Linked DNA regions of Homo sapiens: regions 1, 3 and 4 are each linked to region 2. Evidence: promoter capture Hi-C in 16 types of primary human blood cells and fetal thymus (Javierre and others, 2016). All regions are on one chromosome and are shown on one strand. The core of a region is centred on a gene start or on the middle of the fragment in contact, and the rest is flanking DNA. Distances in the headings are between cores, read along the strand shown. Region 1 overlaps SUFU (SUFU negative regulator of hedgehog signaling). Region 2 holds the start of SLC68A1 (solute carrier family 68 member 1). Region 3 overlaps GBF1 (golgi brefeldin A resistant guanine nucleotide exchange factor 1). Region 4 overlaps GBF1 (golgi brefeldin A resistant guanine nucleotide exchange factor 1).

The links. The method cuts DNA at HindIII sites, captures the fragments that hold promoters and counts their contacts. A CHiCAGO score of 5 or more calls a contact.
Region 1: a contact is called between a fragment that was not itself captured here and the fragment with the promoter of SLC68A1 in region 2, in 1 of 17 cell types (erythroblasts). The highest score is 6.7, in erythroblasts.
Region 3: a fragment that was not itself captured here is called in contact with the fragment with the promoter of SLC68A1 in region 2 in 1 of 17 cell types (activated CD4 T cells); the score reaches 5.3 in activated CD4 T cells.
Region 4: a fragment that was not itself captured here is called in contact with the fragment with the promoter of SLC68A1 in region 2 in 1 of 17 cell types (activated CD4 T cells); the score reaches 5.1 in activated CD4 T cells.

What each region holds. Positions count from the first base shown.
Region 1 is chr10:102,599,383-102,602,673 of GRCh38, forward strand. SUFU (SUFU negative regulator of hedgehog signaling) reads left to right here. Exons shown (of 12, transcript NM_016169.4): 8 at 51-162. Among named protein-coding and RNA genes, the nearest start is that of TRIM8-DT, 42 kb to the right of the region's middle. RefSeq lists an enhancer at 370-1,120. The HindIII fragment of the contact is 3,650 bases long and covers 1-3,075 here.
Region 2 is chr10:102,459,750-102,462,733 of GRCh38, forward strand. It overlaps SLC68A1 (solute carrier family 68 member 1), which reads left to right and starts at 1,646. Exons shown (of 10, transcript NM_024789.4): 1 at 1,646-1,701. It overlaps LOC124902493 (a long non-coding RNA gene), which reads right to left. Exons shown (of 3, transcript XR_007062270.1): 3 at 1,044-2,311. RefSeq lists enhancers at 1,165-1,234, 1,362-2,045, 2,046-2,728 and a silencer at 1,505-1,724. The HindIII fragment of the contact is 5,189 bases long and covers 1-2,984 here.
Region 3 is chr10:102,261,235-102,264,267 of GRCh38, forward strand. The region is part of intron 3 of GBF1 (golgi brefeldin A resistant guanine nucleotide exchange factor 1); the gene reads left to right. Among named protein-coding and RNA genes, the nearest start is that of GBF1, 17 kb to the left of the region's middle. The HindIII fragment of the contact is 561 bases long and covers 1,133-1,693 here.
Region 4 is chr10:102,281,715-102,284,968 of GRCh38, forward strand. All of the region lies in intron 3 of GBF1 (golgi brefeldin A resistant guanine nucleotide exchange factor 1), which reads left to right. Among named protein-coding and RNA genes, the nearest start is that of GBF1, 38 kb to the left of the region's middle. The HindIII fragment of the contact is 1,587 bases long and covers 648-2,234 here.

The DNA of each region.
Region 1 (3,291 bases), core at 1-2,500, 140 kb after region 2:
ATTGCTGGGAGCCCACTGGGCCACTGGGCAACTTAGTGGTGTCGTTGCAGACACAGAGCAGATCCGGGAGACCCTGAGGAGAGGACTCGAGATCAACAGCAAACCTGTCCTTCCACCAATCAACCCTCAGCGGCAGAATGGCCTCGCCCACGACCGGGCCCCGTAAGTTCCCCAGTGTCCCTGGGCTGGAACAAGAGGACGACTTTTTTCTGAAGGGCCTGTCCCTGTGGATTGCATGAGAGAGAACAATGCACATAGCCCTTGCTGGATGGGCCCAGGATCTCTAGGCTTAAGGGCAGGCATGGTCTGGGGCACACAGATCTATCTGTGGGTCATAGGAGAGGGCCTCAGAGGGGACCCAGCAGACCGTGAATATTAACATCAGTAAATATTTACATGAGCCGTGTGAACAGACAGGAGGCCAGGTTGGGGAGAAATCTGACTTGGGGCCTCCCAGCCTTGTGGGAGCCCATTGTGCTGAGCACGGTTCCCTCCTTATCTCAGTCTTGGCCAGAGTTGCCCTTCCTTCCTTCCTGGAGCCTGGTCTCCGGCTGATAGCTGCAACCCTGGGGGCCTCCCTCTCTGGCCAGCCCCATACTGGATGCCTGTGGCTGAGGCCCTTCTTCCTGCCTCTCTTCCCTGGGGCCCAGGGAAGGGAAAGGAAGTCTTTTGCAGGCCTCTGCTGCCTGTCCAGGGGCCCCTGTAGCCCTCCGGAGAGACTGTGGCCACCCTAGAGGTCAGATCCGCTTCCTGCCAACCTCTCTTCCTCTGATAGAGGGGATGAGTGATAGGCAGGGCTGAAGCTGGGCACCCCCCTCTGCCCTTAGTCCCAGGGCAGCTCTAGGGAATAGCTGCTGGCAGGAGATACCTGGGGGCTGGCAGCCCAAAGCAGGAACCTTGCCTGCCAGGGAGGAAATTGCTGTGCCTTGGGCTGAAAGGGAGGTTGATCATCCTGCAAGACCAGGGTGATCTAGCCTTCTTCTATGAAGTCTTTATTACACATTTGCTGTCTGACAAGCTCGGACCTAGGGGGCCATCTGGGGTGCACAGGCTCTTCCTTTGGGAGAACATGAGTGAAACAGTTACCTTTTAATGGTGTGCATCTGGCTGTCGATGTGATTTGTTGGAAATGGCTGCTTCTCTGGATTCTAGCTCTAGTTGCTGATCGTGTTTCCCAGAAGTAGTAATGCTTCAGTGCACTACAGAAAAGACAGGTCCACAGGATCTGGGGTAGTTAGGGAGGGCATCTTGGAGGAGGAAGAACATAGCATCGACCTTGAGGGCACCTTAGAATTTTAATAAGCAGGGGAAGGAACTCAAGAGGATAGCACAGGGGAGGCCTGGCTGGTTAAAGTTGAGGCTGCCTGCTGGGACCTGACTGGAACTAGAGTTACTCTGGGAACAGGGCTGTACTGAGAGTTGAGCTCTTTGGCAAAAGCCTGGAGAAGCCTCCACCGCCACCTCAGAGCAGCTTTTAACTCCGGCCTGTAGGTTTCTCCAGCCAGCTGCCCTGAAGTAGCTGGCTGGAGGCATCCTGATCATCCCCTGGCAGCAGCAGATGGCCACACCAGGTCATACGACATATGGAAGCTCTCTACCTGTGAGTCTGGACCCTGTCCCGGGTCTACACTCCTTCCCATTCCCTGAGCTTGGCTTCTCGCTTTGGGCCTCCTTGGCACTGTTGGCAGGCCAGAGGTACTGGAAGGCCTATAACATGGACACAGTCTCAGTCCAGATGGCTCTCTGCCTCTGGAAGCCTGGGGTTTCTAGGCAGAAGGGCACAAGCTCCTGCAGAGATACAACCTTCTTGCCCCGCTTGTGTATCTGGAACAGGCCTGAGATCTCACTCCCTGGCTTGGGGGCACTTCCAGCTACTGCACCCCTGGACATTGCAATGGGGCACAAGGCTCTGTGCTCCTAGATATACACATAAGCCGAGACTCTCAGCCTACACCCTAACTGGGCAGTCGGGTATTGGTTCTGGCCCAAGGGTTCTCTGTAAACATAAGGCAGAGAGGCTGCAGCTTCTACCCTTTGGCTTGAGTTGGCTGAGATACAGAGAGATGGGTGAGAATAGATTCGAGGTGCCGGGGTTGTCTCCCCTTCCTGAAGGTTTAGTGCCCAGTAAGGTCTCTAAAGCACCAGGACCTGTAGTCTGAGGGGAATAGAATGTTTCCTCTGAGGCTGTCAGTATTGGTTACCAATTTGTTAGCAATTGGTTGAGAAATGGTTTCTCCTCCTCCTTTGCCAAGAACATTCTCCAACACACCCCTCAAGCCTGTCAGACTCAAGTTTCCTGTTATCTCAGGATCGATGATGATGGACTCAGTTCAGATCAGTGAGCGTGACGGTAATATCTGTGCTGCCCACTCTGGGACCTGACCCCATTTCACATACACCACATGGATTGCAACTGAGAAAGCTGACCCAAAATGTGCTGGCACCAGTGTTTGCTCCTCTCCCTGTTGGGGGGCAGCCAGCGTGGGCCATATTTTGTCTGCGGGTCTGATTTCCCCTTAGTCAGGACTTCTGGGCCAGGGAGCTCTTATGCATGGGTCTTCGCGGGTTTGTCTGTGGTCTAAGGAAGATACAGAGCTAAATCAGAGGCTCAGAGCAGCTGATCAAGCCTGGGCAATAGCAGCCGGGTGCCGGCCTACTTGGGGGTGTCAAGCACTTGCTCTTTTCACACTTCAGCAGCAGCTAAAACCTTATTAGTGCTCATTCTGTGCTAGGTAATGTGCCAGCTACTATGTGCTGCCATTCATTTATCTTATCCTCATAGCCATCCTGTGGTCGATAATCTTACATATTCCCCTTTAATGGATGAGGTACAGAGAGGCTAATAAGTATCTTTTCCAAGGTTGGAAAGGGGTAGAGCTTAGTTACAGCCATCTATCAGCCATTAAAATGGATGTAATCTTCCTTACCCCATTCTCAGGGACCCCATGGGGGACACATCAGACTGTGTCTCTGAGAAAATAATGACCTTTACTGGTAGAATTCATCTAACTAGTTGCAGCATGAATCAGGACCTCTCACATGGCACCAAGGACAAGGCCAAAGCCTCATATTAGAAGCTTATTGGGCTTATTTAACTAAACTCTAGGGGAGTTAAATAACTCCTATGAGATGCCATGAGCCTTGATGATTCCAAATCCCAGAAATAACAAGCTATGTCATAATTGGCTCATTTATACCAAAATTATTTTGTGACACAAGGCCTTACTTTCTTCATGTGCAGAAACTAAAACAACCCTCTCTCTGGTCCCTCTACCACCTCAGGGCTAGGGG
Region 2 (2,984 bases), core at 396-2,895:
AGGTTAGTGGGAGATGGATTCTGGGGGCAAGGTTCATGGCATCCCTGGGGGCTCCTCAGGAACTGGTTGAATAATCTGTAGCCCCTGGACACTAGGCGTCTACATTGGACCATTTGCTGTGGTTGTTAGGAGGAGGACAACATTCCTGTTGCAGGAAGTTAGCCGACAACCATCAATGAAGGTCATAAGGATGAGCAGTTCACAAAGCTCCTACACCCTTGTTTCTCATTTAATGTCTGAAAAATCCCTGTAAAGCATAAAACAGACTCACAAAAGGAGGGTCCCAGCCAGGTGCAGTGACTCACGCTTATCATTCCAGCACTTTGGGAGGCTGAAGCGGGAGGGTCCCTTGAGCCCAGGAGTTCAAGACCAGCCTGGGTAACATAGTGAGACTCCATCTCTACAAATAATTCTAGAAATTAGCCAGGCATGGTGGAGTGAGGTGGTGGTCCCAGCAACTTGGGAGGCTAAGGTGAGAGGATCATCTGAGCCAGGGAGGTGGAGGTTACAGTGAGCTGAGATCATGCCACCACTGCACTCTAGCCTGAGCAACAGAGCAAGACCCTGTTTCAAAAAATAATAATAAAGAAGTCCCTTAGCAAAGAAGTGTTGGAGCTAGGGGTTGAGTTCCAAGTCCCCCATAAGGCAAAGGCCACAGGCTTTTTGCCCTGTGTCCCAAGGTAGGGGAACCAGGCAGAGCTGGAATGTGTGCTGTTTGCTTGCCCAAAAACCTATCCAGGCTTACAGGCCAATTGGGAGAAAACATAAAACATCCTCCACAGCCTACATTGAGCCAAACAAAACTTGATTTTGAGGGATTGTGCAGGTGTGGGAAGAGGAAAGACTCTTGTTATGGGAGTCAGGATAGCGGGTTCCACCTCGACTGGGCCCTTGCTGTTTGCGTGTCATTGAATCTCTCTGAAATGCAGTTTCTTCACATATAAAATGTGGATAAAAGCGCCTACCTCCTAGGAATGATGTGAGGACTCAACAAGAGAATGCACGTGTTGTTCTGAATGTAGTACGGTGCACATAGCAAGCACTCAGTACTCCTTAGGTTTTATTATTGCCGTTATTAATACAAAGAGGTTGTGCTGCATGGTTGCTCATTCAGGCCCTGGTGGCTGTTTCCCACCTTCAGCCCTGGCTCCTGTGGCTAGAGCCCTGGTGCCCACAGCTCAACCTGGACCTGTCCACCCTTGAAGGGCTCATGATGCAGCATCAGGGAGTCCCAGATCGAGCCGCTGACACCTCCAAGTCGGCTGCAGCTGTGCATCCGCTCAGACCACAAGACTCAATGGAGGATGCTGACCTCTCTTTGTTCTCCCAACGAGTACTAGGCAAGGAGGGAAGGAAGGTGAGCGCTTAGAAAAAACGTGTTGGTTTCAACTGAAATGACATTAAGCTATCGTGGAGGTAAAGGAGAGGGGTTGAGCCGGTCAGGAATCCAGGCAACCTGACCCTATTTGCCAGTGTCCGCTTTTAATTTTGGTCGCTAAGGGCAAGCGCCCGTGACAAACATGGCGGCGGCAGCCTCAGGCGCAGTCACCTGCCGGAGCTGCGCCCGGGGGCCGCGCGGAGCCAATCGCTGGGCGGGGGCGGAGGGAGAGGCTGGGGAAGCCCTAGAAGTGCGCGCAGGCGCATTGGCTCGCACCTGGCTCCCGCCAGCCGTGGGATTAGGCTTCGCCGGCTACGATTGCGGTGAGACGCTGGCCAGCGGCCGGGGCTCGCGGGCAGGAGCGGGCTGGGCTGGGGCCGATCTGGCACAAACGACAGACCCGAGGGGGAGGGGAATGCTTTGCGCTCTGGGAGTCATGGGGGCTATCTGCGGGGGTCTTTGGGGTGATCATATTGTGGATTGGGAGAGTTGTGTGGTCCGGGCGGAAGAAGCGGGGTTCAAGGGGGCAAGGGTGGAATCCTCGCAGAAAGGCTCTCCGGGGGTCTGGAGGAAAGGGATGCAGTGGGTCAAATAGCTCCCTGGTGGTCTGGGATCGAGGGATGCACTGGTCAGGTCGGGATCCGTGCCATTAGCATAAAGGCATTTAACCCTGGTGGCACTTGGGGAGCTTTGAAAAACACCGATGCTGGGCCCGCCCGAAGAGATTCCGATTTAACTGTTCTGGGTGAGGCCTGGGCCTCGGTATTATTGCACAGCTCCTCAGGTGATTTTAACGTGCAGGCGGTGGGGAGCAGCCCTACACGTGTTTCAGCACCAGCTATTGAGTGAAGAGCTCCTGGGCTGATCCCAAACTCCTCAGTGGCTTGGGAGGGGTGGGTGGTCCTGAGGTGAAGCTGTCGCCTCTTCTGGGACCTGTGGGGGAGGGAGAGGGAGAAGGTCCCCATCTCAACAAGTTGAAAGCTCATTTCCAGCCGGAGGAGGAGGATGGGCCCCCACCCCCCAACCCTGGTGCTAGACCCTGCTGTGGGGAGACTGGGCAGGAAGACAAGACCCCGAGAGTGAAACAGGAAACACAGCAGACAATTCAGGGGTCAGCTGCCTGTTGAGAAAAGGGCACATATTATACCTTTCATGTTCATTTGTTCATTTGGTATTCCTGAGGATAGGCAGAGAATGGAATTGTTTTCTCTGCTTCACAGATGTAGGAATAGACTCAGATAGTAAGTTAAAGATAATGTTCACACCTGACCCAGGGCTCCTGACTCCAAATTATGCCTCTTCTTAGCTTTTACCTCTGCACTAATGTCTCTTGTACAGTCTGATACCTCTCACTCCAGGGGCCCAGTTCGGCATTCTTGGTTTCCGCCACTAAATTCATCAACCTCCCCCACCCACCATAGGTTGGTTCAGAAATCAGGGAGATGTTGCTGCTTCCATCCCTTTCTAGTCTTTACCTACCAGGGGCCTGGTAGGGTGAAGGGGAAGAGTTTTGACACCTGCTAGAGGGCTTCTTCCAAACAGATCTGTCACTTCCCCACCCCCAGCGCCCCACCTGTTGTCCTCAGCATAGAATCTTGCACAAGGT
Region 3 (3,033 bases), core at 163-2,662, 200 kb before region 2:
TTGTGTGTGTGTGTGTGTGTGTGTTTATTTTATGTATATATATACACACACACACACACATATACACTGGCAGGAAAGGAGGAAAGTGTCAAAACCAAGGGGATGTAGATACAGACTGAAAGGGACAGCCTCAGAGCTATGTTCCTTTGTTGACCACAAAGGGCTCCTGCAGTGTATAACCCTGGAATGCTTTTGGCTAGTGACATATGTCAGACTGTAATTGGATAGTGTTTAGGCTTCTGCAAATTAAACAAACAATAAGAAAATTTCTTCTTTTCATTAGAAATATGGGAGAAGATCTGGAGAAAAAATCTATTTTACTTTCCTAAACATGGGCTAAAGTTATCTAAGAGTTCCCTACATATTTTCTTTCTTTCTTTCTTTTTTTTTTTTTTTTTTGAAACAGTGTGTCTCTCTGTTGCCTAGGCTGGAGTGCAGTGGTGTGATCTCGGCTCACTGCAACTGCAACTTCCGTCTCCCAGATTCAAGCGATTTTCGTGCCTCAGCCTCCCAAGTAGCTGGGATTACAGACGTGCACCACCACACCCGACTAATTTTTGTATTTTTACTAGAGACGGAGTTTCACCATGTTGGCCAGGCTAGTCTCAGACTCCTGACCTCAGATGATCCACTTGCCTTGGCCTCCTAAAGTGCTAGGATTACAGACGTGAGCCACCGTGCTCAGCCCATATTTTCTTTTTGTGCAGTGGCGTGATCTCAGCTCACTGTAACTTCTGCTTCTTGGGTTCAAGCAAGTCTTCTGCCTCAGCCTCCTGAGTAACTGGGATTATAGGCGTGTGCCACTATGCCTGGCTAATTTTTGTATTTTTAGTAGAGATGATGTTTCACCGTTTTGGCCAGGCTGGTGTTGAACTTCTGACCTCAAGTGATCCGCCCACCTTGGCCTCCCAACCATATTTTCTTTAAAGGAGCAAATTTCACTCAATTGAAACAGCTTGGAAATGTTAGCTAAGAAGGATCAAGTATAGAGGAGGCAATTGTTGACTAGTTAGCAGGGCAAATGCTGCTACTAGGTGGCATGTTCTTATTTTATGGCCTGTACCGACTGGTACTTGAGTGCTTTAGAATGTTGGCTACTTGCACAGATTTTTTTTTTTAATTTTACAGATAAAGCTTACATATCCCAATTAGAAAGGAAATATAATGAATGGAGATTTACAGTTCTTTTTGTTTGGTTTTGAATTCAGAGTACTGTCTTCTTAAGAGATATTAAGAGGATCAAACAAGTTAATATAATTGGAAACACTTGGTAAACATCTTATACACAGTGAAGGATTGTTGTTATAAGTGACTGGGAATACCCTAAAATGACTGAGATCACCCTGGCCTTGTAGGCCTTTTGGTCATTCTGCAAACCTTGAGGAGCTGAGGTGGTGCTGCTATCCTGACAGAGCCACATTTCCTGCCTGCTACTGAATCCAGATCCCATGCTTATTTTCTTCATGCTAACATGTCCCAAGATTTTACCTCAGAGACCATACCTGTGGTGAATGATGCAGTCTAGGAATTGTAGACTATTTAAGAGCTATCAAAGTTGAGTCTGACGCCTGATTTCCTTACGTCCTTGGGTCAGAAATCCAGCCAGATTATCTGCTCTTGGAACTAGTAAAACCAGAGTGTGTTCAGGAGCCATTTCTCTCATTGGTGGTAGGAACATCTCTGGGTGTTGCTAAGCTTTCCCCTGGAGTGAGAGGGAAGGGAGTAGTGTTTTCCAAGGCCAACAGCTGTGGCATGTCTTGAAATGGTGCCTGCCAAGGTTGCTACATTGTTCTTGGTTTTTAGCATATTACCTGCCTGAGAAAATGACAGAATAGACCTAAAATAGAGCATTTATGGTCTTCATATTGCTTCTGACCCCACACACAGTGCCGGCTCCCAGGAGCAGGTTTATGGGTCAGCTGTCCCTGTGGTCCTGGACTCTGCAACCCATGACTAATTTCTTGTTTCTTTTACGGAAACAAACAGATTTTTCTGATTGGCAGTGTCAGGAGGACTGCTTTCCTGGAAGCTTATTAATGGTAGGAGGCTGGGAAAGGGTTTTTAACTTGGAGAGAAAACTGAAGGGAATGTGCTTGTGTTAGATGACCAGTTAAGGTGTACCACTTAGATTGGAGGAGGGATAGCAGGAATTCTAGGACTTCTACCCAGTTTCTCATGAAACTGACTTGGACATGGTCCTTTTTTGCAAAGGGTTTCTGTTTGCATTTTTCTAGGCTTTCTGCTGGCTTGATTGGTAAGACTATCACTGTTGGAAATGGGTGGTTCATTGGACATTGTCAGTAAACCAAAATGATTTTTTTTTCTCTTTTTGTAGAAAGAATCTTTAAAATGTATAAGTACTACCTACACTACTCCTCCAGGAATATTATCTCATTATTGTGAAGGAAATAAGTCCTTTTCTCCAGTAAGGTTGGCTAAGTCCATACTAGTTTTTCTCACAGATGTATGTCATTGGACCACATTTACAGTCAGTATTTGCCTAAACTGTATGATGACTACAAGGTCTATAGCATTTAGAGTAATAAGATATTCTAATAATACCAAATTTGAAAAGAGGGTTGCTCTTGGAAGAAAAAGGGTGTCCAAGAGCAAAGTTTGCATACTGTTACTTTGGATAAAGCTTTAGCTTACCACCAGTGAGAGAGACTTGACTGCTGTCCCTCATTTGGTCTTGAAGTCCTCTCAGGACTCCTTTTAGATTATTCTGAAGGAGTTAAAACAGATGTGTGGTTACCAGGGGCTGGGAGGGGGTATGGAGAGTGACTGCTAATGGCTACAGGGTTCCTTTTTGGGGTAATGAAAATGTTCTAGAATTAGATAGTAGCGATGGTTGCACAACTTTGTGAGTATACAAGAAACCACTGAATTGTATACTTGAAAAGGATAATTTTATAGTATGTGAATCATATCTCAGTTTATAAAGGAGGCAAATGTAGGCTGCAGAAGTGATGGATTTGCCAGTTTTTTCTCAGGTCTCAGAACTGTGGAGGGAAGTCTCTGTAGTCACTGCTG
Region 4 (3,254 bases), core at 191-2,690, 180 kb before region 2:
GACACATTTGTCACAATTAATGAACAAATATTGATTCATCATTAATTAAAGTCCATACTTTATTCAGATTTCATTAGGTTTTTACTTAATGGCCTTTTTCTGTTCAAGGATTCCATCTAGGATACCACATTACATTTAGTCATCACATCTTGTTAGGTTCCACTTGGCTGTAACAGTTTGCCTGTATTCTTTTTCTTTTCTTTTTTCTTTCTTTTCTTTTTTTTTTTTTTGAGACAGAGTCTCGCTCTGTCGCCCAGGCTGGAGTGCAGTGGCGCGATCTTGGCTCACTGCAAGCTCCGCCTCCCAGGTTCCTGCCATTCTCCTGCCTCAGCCTCCTGAGTAGCTGGGACTACAGGCGCCCACCACCACACCCGGCTAATTTTTTTTTTTTTTGTATTTTTTAGTAGAGATGGGGTTTCACCGTGTTAGCCAGGATGGTCTCAATCTCCTGATCTTGTGATCCACCCGCCTCGGCCTCTCAAAGTGCTGGGATTACAGGTGTGAGCCACCGCGCCCGGCCGCCTGTATTCTTTTCAAGTTTCACAAAAACTCACAAGATAGACTGTGCCTTTATTAATATTCCCCTTTTACAGATAAAACTCAGGTTCCAGAAAAATTAAGTAACATTTTCAAGGTTATACAGTAAAAGCTTCTTTTAAAGTGTGATTATGATTTGGAAAAAGGCGATGAGGTTATTTATTTGCTTTTCACGTGAATAAGGGCAGACTTACAGCTAACCTTCAGGTGGGCCATTTACTGAAGAGGAACAAGAGACAGAGGTGAGTCTAGCTTGTTCCTGGACTCTTCTGTCTTGCTGGAGACAAATTAACATTATTATTTTAATCACAATTATTTTGGGAAAACCCCTTTCTCTTTGATTCTGCTATGTCTACCAAAGGAACTGATGGCAGAAAATCCTGAGTTAGCCTTGTTCCCTGGCAACAGACTTCAGGCTGCTTACTGGTCCCTGTTGTTGGATACCAGGTTCAGTAGGAAAGTCTGCTGAGAGTATAGCATGAACACTAACCCAACTAGCCTATTTCCAGCACGTGTGGTGTTAACTATCTGGGAATAGGAACATGAGTTTTTAAATTCCAGTCTCTAATTGGGTAGGCTGAAGTTCTGGCTTGGAGTAAGGAGATTCACAGAACTGCAGTGCTAAGAGATAGTAGAAAAATTTAAAAATTCAATAAGACATGGCACTTAACTGACTCTGAATGCTCTGTCCGGAGGGATGAGTAAAGGGGAGAGGTGAGAGGAGGTAAAGTAGCGGGTTACTAATGATCCTAGATACTATTAAAAGATTATCACAAGGAGGTGGAAACTATTGAGGTACAAACCATCAGATCTTAAGGTAAGGAGTCACTCATCTTGCCCAGAGAAGTAGTAGTGAAGATAGTACCTGGATCCTAAAAGGTAACTTTTAAAGTACTTCAACCTAAGATGACAGAGGGTAGGCAGTTTATTGATACCCTTAACAACCACTTGTTAGTAGAGCCATTTTAATTAATGGGAAAGGGGATCATTCTCCGTTTATGCTTTTATTATATGTAGCTATGAGCATAGAAGCTGTGTTTGGACCCTCTGGTGACTATTGCCCTCTTCTAGTTGTGTCCAGGCACAGGTAAATTCTTGAGGCCAGGAAGGGCCTGGCTTTATCTCCAAAAGGAAGCTGTGGAAATAGCAATGAGCAAAACAATGAGAAAGAGCTTTAGAAAATTTGCAAATATTGTGTATCTTCATGGCATGATGAAGTGGGATTAGGACAGGGGAGAAAGTATAAACCACCAATTATAGGAGTCTTTAAGGGCTTGGGTGACTGAGGCCTTCTGCTAGGAGGCTGGGAGGTTGTTGATGACAGCAAAGATGTAACAGGTATTGAATACTAGAGGATAGACCTCATACTCTGAAAATGCTTTTGCCTCAACAATTTGAAAGAGAAATATGAAAGACAAAGTGACAATATGAAGAATGACTATTCAAAGTGCTTCTACCAGTAAGTCTTGTCTGTTGGCAAGTTTTAACCTGTAGGTAGGGGAAAAACGTGGGAGGATCTCTTATTCAGAATGCAAAACAGGAGACAGTGAAGTACCTGTGTTTCCAAAGAACTCCGAATTGAGCTGTGGTGGAAGAGGAGGAAATTTCTTACTGTGGTCTTGTATAATGTGAAATCTTTGTGAAGTCTCAATAGATGTTAAGTCTCCAAGGAGGGGAGACTTTTTAGCTGCTAAAGAAGCTTAGGTTCAGTGAGCCTCCAGTGGGAATACAGACATAGACGTCCACTGACATTTCTGCAACCAGTTTTGGTGAGTGGAAAGCAACTAGGTAAGTTTCACTTTTTGCAAGAATCCCAAGTGACCCTTTGCACTATGGACTGAGGTACCTGCTTGTCTCTACAAAAACTATAGAGGAGACACGACAGGCTTTAACTGGAAATTGTTCATGGTTTCTTAGAAGGGAAGCTCATATCCTGTTAAAGCACTTTAGAAAAATAAAGTCAAATTAGAGATAAGAGGATCTTTACTTGTATTTTCAAGAGCTTTTTTAAAAAACTGAAGTGAAATGCATATAACATAAAATTAACCATTTTAAAGTGAAACAATATAGTGGCATTTAGTACATTCACAATGTACCCTATCTAATTCCAAAACATTTTCATCGCCCCAAAAGGAAATCCTGTACCCATTAAGCAGTTGCTCCACACTTTCCCTTCCCCTCCAGCCCCTGGTAGCCATCCATCTGCATTCTGTCTCTGTAAATTTACCTATTCTGGATATTTCATATAAATGGAATCATATAATATGTGTCCTTTTATGTCTGGCTTCTTTCTCTTAGCATAATGTTTTTGAGGGTCATCCATGCTGTAACATGAATCAGCACTTCAATTCTTTTTAGGATTGAATAATATTCCATTGTGTGTGTATACCACAATTTGTTCATCCATTCATTCGTTGATGGACATTTGGACCATTTCTTCCTTTTGGCAATTATGAATAGTGCTGCTAGGGACATGTGTATACATGTATTTGAGTATCTGTTTTCAATTCCTTTGGATATATACCTAGGACTGGAATTGCTGGGTTGTATGGTAATTCTATGTTTAACTTTTTGAGTAACTGCCAAACAGTTTTCTATAGCAGCTGAACCATACTACATTCCCACCAAGAATGCATGAGGGTTCCAGTTTTTCCGCATCCTTACCAACACTTGTTATTTGTGTTTGTTTTGTTTTATATAGCTTCAAAAGCTTTTGA